Linked DNA regions of Homo sapiens: region 1 is linked to region 2. Evidence: promoter capture Hi-C in human tissues and cell types (Jung and others, 2019). All regions are on one chromosome and are shown on one strand. Each heading gives the region's core, a stretch centred on a gene start or on the middle of the fragment in contact. The rest is flanking DNA. Distances are from core to core; before and after follow the strand shown.

Region 1 (2,700 bases), core at 197-2,696, 560 kb before region 2:
ACTGTTTACTTAATCATACCTGATTGATTTATCTCTTAGTTGATCTAATCTCCCACATGAAATATTGCCTGATTAAGTTAATAAAATTTACATTGTTACCTTTGGCTATACATTTATAACCACTAACTTCTGTGAATTGTTTTCTGATCTAGGCATAACTATTTTATGGAAAATATACATGTACATTTCATGTTATACTTTAGATAAAACTACTTGCAAGGGCACCAACTTTTAGGTTTCTTTAAAACAGTATTTATTTCTGATTGGCTGCATACAAATGTTTTGTGGCTTATGGTTTAAAATAAATAAAAGAAAAATAACCCTGGGTACAGAAAAAAGTATAGAATTAATGGGAGGCCAGTGACAATCTTTGATTGGGATAGTTTTGGTTTCTAAGCAGACAGGCTGGTTTGGAATGAGTAGGGCCTCTTTTGCAGAAGATCCATTTCTGGCTTGTGGGATCGACTCTTGCTTTCAGACATCTGATCTGCTTATTTCAAATCCCTGCTCATTTATAAATGACCAGGAAGGCAGAAAAATTAGGTTAGGTAGATAGAAAGCTATTTTTTTTCTAAGAAGATTTACTTTAATGATAATAAAATGCAGTAAAAACCTCAAAGGGAATGGTCAAGTACTGATTGGACTTTTAGAGTTATCACAGTGATCATACATTCTTGTTTATTTCTGTTTCAGCACAAATAATAATAGCACTTTCTTTCATTCCCCAAACTGTCCGAGTTTGCTTATAAGATATATGGACCCCTATCTATTGCTAATATTGAGAGTCCCCAACACACTGAATCATTAAAAGAAGGGCATGATTCTTACCAGAAAAGAACACTCAAACACATATTAAGAAAGTTGTGGCTTGTTTTGTTCACAAGTAGGGGTAAGTTACAAGGGAAAGTTGATGGAAAAGTCACAAACATAAAGTTGAACTCTCAGGATAAAGACAGCCAACACTTTACTGTGTTCTAAGTCTTTATTCTTTCTGCAAAGTGATTGGAGTCACAATCTTTATGAGAGCACTTTGAAGCTCGATTTGAGATTTTTTTCAAAGATTCCACCCAGACAATATGTGAAACTCCTTCAGCAAACTTGGAAAGCTAAAAATTTCAGCTGACCCTGCCAGGATTTTAACCTGTGGTTCCAGAGAGTCTAAGTATTGCACAGCTGATGTTTGTGCCACTAAGCCAGCCCCTCCAGACTTACGCATATGACTGCAGTATATTTGGCAGTTGGCATATAGGCTTGACTGCTTGTCTGCTTTCCTACTGGGAAGGAGAATTACATGAAGAATCCTTCAGCTGACCTTTGCTTGCTTTCTTGTACATCACCATTGTTTAAACCCATAACTCTAGTGGATGAACATGAGATAATTTCAGACAACCTATTGTGCTTCCAAGACATCCTATGGATATCTGACTTTCTCAGGACTTAAAGGTCTTTATTCTGTTTGAAATTCACGAATTTTTGAGTCTAGCTAAGCTAATTCGGTTCTTTGCTTTTAGCAGCAGTGCATGTGGTTTTACTAGTAAGAGCGTGTGTGTGCATGAGAAAAGATTGAGTAATTAAAATAACAAAACAGTCACAATTATTTTAAAATTTGTATTGTGCTGAGGGCACTCATCAGTTATAAACATAAAATTAGACAATTTTTAAAATGAGTGTTGACAGCCTTTGCTTCTGAGCAGTCATATCTAATGCATAACATTAGCCTTCTGCTGGGAGTAGGGGAAAATGTAAACCTGTAAAATACAACTGCTGACCTCAGGAGCTTGCCATTTAATGAGGGAGTTAAGACATGCCTGTGTGGGAAGACAAATAGCAAGATATGTGTTAAATAATAACAAAAGACAAAAATAGATGAAATAAGTAAGACAGTGCATAGGATAAGCACTCACAGAGAGGCGCAATTAGTCTTTCAAGTTCAGATATGAAAGATTAGTAGAGGTTGCTGAGGTTTCAGAAGGCATCATTGAGGATGTGGGCTTACATTGGGCCTTTAAAAGTGAAGCGAGGTGGTGAGAACATTTCAAGTTGGAAAAATTAATTTAGCAAAAGGTACTTGTGATCTTTCACTGTGTAGCCCTTCAAATTGAATTTCATGTGAATAAAACTCTAACTTCTTGAACATAGAAGCTACTGTGAAATTAAGTTCAAATTTTAATGATCATCTCTCAAAGCATGCTTGCTGCTTTCAACTTCTGAGCCAATAGTCCAGTACAGATGACAATCCTATTGACATAATTGTATTTTAATATTAAAAAAATTTTATTATTATAAAACTAATACTGCTTATTATATAAGGAAGACAGTACAAATTACTCATGATTCTACAACTAGGGCAGACCACTGCTAACATTTGGTAAGCTTCGTTCCAATACTTTTTCTACATATTCGAGTATGTGTATATGAACAACAATGATAAACACTCTTGTACTCTGCAAAAAAAAAAAAAAAAAAAATTGCCATTATACTGAAAGCATTTTCTTTTCTACTGAGGAATATAACCTGGATGTGACTGAACTCAAAAATGAATTTGTTTCACTAATAATTATGTTTGTTTTGGTTTATTTTGACTCGTTTATGGGTGATTTTGACAAATAAGTTTTAATATTAAGATACTTTAATTTGTTTATAACAACAGTAAGAAATACATTAAATTTTAAGAAGTGAGATTAAAAATGGTGTAGTATG
Region 2 (2,700 bases), core at 83-2,582:
TCTGGTTTTACAAAAGAGACCAAGACTTATAACTTAAATGATTTACTGCTCATGATTGTGCAACTTTTAAGTCACAAATCCGGGATTTAAACCTAGGTGTGAAGGCAAAGCCCATGTTCCTTCTGCAAGCGCTCCTCTAAATGTATGTCTTCACAGAGCTATTAACCCCTCTTTTTTTGTTTAACACGGTTATGTAAAAAGAAAAAAAAACTGAGCTGGCAGTTACAGAAAAGTTATAGCTTTCAAGAGCCTGACAGTCTAGTTAGGAAGCAAAATATCTAGAAATCCAACAAGTGCAAAGCAGTGTCTAGATAAGGAGGGAAACTCACAGGCAGTAATAGCAGAGGAGGGTGAGCTCGGCCTGGTGCTGGGCTGATGAGCACTTTGACTTGGCAGGAGGTCTGTTGTCTGTGGAACAAGATAAGTAAATTGCTTGTACAACCCTTCTCTCCAATCATTGAATCTGAATCCCTGTTACCATTTAATGCCTGAAAATAGTAGATTCTTTTACCTTTTAGCATAGAGGAGATGGTGGAAGGTGACAGAAGAAAGGCACATTTTGAAGGGAGTGTGGAGAGTTTGTGGGCTAAGAGATGAAGAGGTAGGAAGCTGGCATGGCGGCTCATACGTGTAATCCCAGTGCTTTGGGAGGCAGAGCCCAGCTGATAGCTTGAGGCCAGGAGTTGGAGACCAGTCTGGACAACATAGTGAGATCCCATCTCTTAAAAAAAAAAAAAATAGCGGAGCGTGCTGGCGCACGACCAAAGCCCTAGCTACTCTGGAGGCTAAGGTGGGAGGACTACTTGAGTCCAGGAGTTCGACGTTACAATGAGCTATCAGCATGCCACTGCACTTTAGCCTGAGTGACAGAGCCAGAGACTGTCTCTGAAAAGAAGAAGAAAAGATAGAGAAAGGCACTTGGAGGAATTGAGATTGTTTTCCGTAGGAAAGAGAAAAGGTATGGGGGTGGGAGACGATGAGGTGAGGAGCTAACTTCAAGAAATCTCATCCAGAAGTTAGTGGAGTGCCCTTAACACTTAATTGGGAAATGTCTTCAGTTTCCTGCACTTGAAGGATTGTTGTCTCTTCCTGGAAGAGAGGATTTAGATTTATTCTCCTGGGGAACAAACGATGGAATCAAAGGCTAAAAGCCTGGCGGGAATACATTTCTACTCAATACAAAGAATTTAAAAGGAGCTACACGCACTGCCTCAGGCGGTGGTGAGCCTGTTTCAAACAGAGGCAGGCTGCTTCCTGAGGAACCAGCCCCTCGGGGCTTGACGCCCTGATCCCGGGTCGCTGGCCGGGGGCGGAGACGGGGATAGCGAGCTGAGTGTGCGAGCGCCAGGGGTTCCAGCTGCACGTCCCAGGCTCTCCAGCGCGCGGCAGGCCGGGGCGGGACGAGGAGAGCTGCGGGGACAACGCCTGTGGCTGGGTCCGGAGGTGCGGGTGCGGCGCGGGACAAGCGGGCAGCATGCTCAGGGCGGTCGGGAGCCTACTGCGCCTTGGCCGCGGGCTAACAGTCCGCTGCGGCCCCGGGGCGCCTCTCGAGGCCACGCGACGGCCCGCACCGGCTCTTCCGCCCCGGGGTCTCCCCTGCTACTCCAGCGGCGGGGCCCCCAGCAATTCTGGGCCCCAAGGTCACGGTGAGCCAGGGCTCCGACGGGGAGGTCCTGGGAGGGAGGAGGTTGCGGGAGGGCAGCGAGGGGCCGGCCCGGGAGTCGGCTTGAGGGCGCGCTGATCCTCTGTGCCGGTGCGTCAGTTCCCGCGTCCATCTGGGTTGCTTTCGCTGCAGGGGAGATTCACCGAGTCCCCACGCAGCGCAGGCCTTCGCAGTTCGACAAGAAAATCCTGCTGTGGACAGGGCGTTTCAAATCGATGGAGGAGATCCCGCCTCGGATCCCGTAAGTGTGGCGACCGCCGCGCGAAGGAGAGTCGGTCCCCGGCCGCAAGGGTGCGGGGTGACCCACCTTCCGACCGCGGCCACCTAGGAGCGAAAGCGGCCGCAGTGCCAACACTTCGCAATATCACCCACCACACACGGAGTTTACCCACACACACACCCCGCCTCCAGTGCGGTGTGTCAAGAGTCAATTAAGCTTACAGGGAGATTGCAGAAGGTGGGTGAAAACTGAGAGGTTCAGGGGACACTTCCAGCACCGCCCAGATTGCCGGTCCCCAGCAAGCTCCGAACTGGGAGGCAGTGGGGCTCTTGTGCCAAACAGGCCACGGTCCTCGCGAGCATCCGGATGGCTGCCGGGACGCCAGACCGCAATCCAGGCTTTGGCCGGGGGCGTCCCCCTACCCCACCCAAGGAAGGGGTTCTCTGATCTTGGCTTGCGGGGCGGCTGTGGCGGGGGGGTCTCTGGAAAAAAGACGCATCCATGCGGCCTCCTCTTCTGGGGCAGGAGACGCCTGGCGGACGTGTTTCTGCAGCCCTCTAGGCTCCGGGTTTACTCAGGGTGGGACGCGCGGGAGTGTCAGCACTGTGGGCCTCTTCAGCATGCTAAACCCACCAAGACAGATGATAAAACTCAAACTAATAACTCCCCCTCTAAGGTAATGTAACCTGTAAAATAAATGCTAATAATAAGTAAATGTAACCTGTAAAAAAATCTTTCCAAAGTTTCTGTTTCTGCCAAGCCCAAAAACCTTCGCAGCATTTTTACAAGGGATTGGGTAAAAAAGAGAGGGACGGAA

What was found. Contacts are between HindIII fragments. The study calls those that stand out against the background at their distance.
Region 1: a fragment that was not itself captured here is called in contact with the fragment with the promoter of FAM162B in region 2 in 1 of the 25 tissues and cell types used here (lymphoblastoid cells).

What each region holds. Positions count from the first base shown.
Region 1 is chr6:117,321,598-117,324,297 of GRCh38, reverse strand. All of the region lies in intron 35 of ROS1 (ROS proto-oncogene 1, receptor tyrosine kinase), which reads left to right. Among named protein-coding and RNA genes, the nearest start is that of VGLL2, 57 kb to the right of the region's middle. The HindIII fragment of the contact is 3,366 bases long and covers 1-2,700 here.
Region 2 is chr6:116,764,351-116,767,050 of GRCh38, reverse strand. It overlaps FAM162B (family with sequence similarity 162 member B), which reads left to right and starts at 1,332. Exons shown (of 4, transcript NM_001085480.3): 1 at 1,332-1,646; 2 at 1,796-1,904. The coding sequence starts at 1,475. LOC105377963 (a long non-coding RNA gene) reads right to left here and starts at 683. Exons shown (of 3, transcript XR_942910.3): 1 at 512-683; 2 at 330-408. RefSeq lists an enhancer at 1,797-2,311. The HindIII fragment of the contact is 7,101 bases long and covers 1-2,700 here.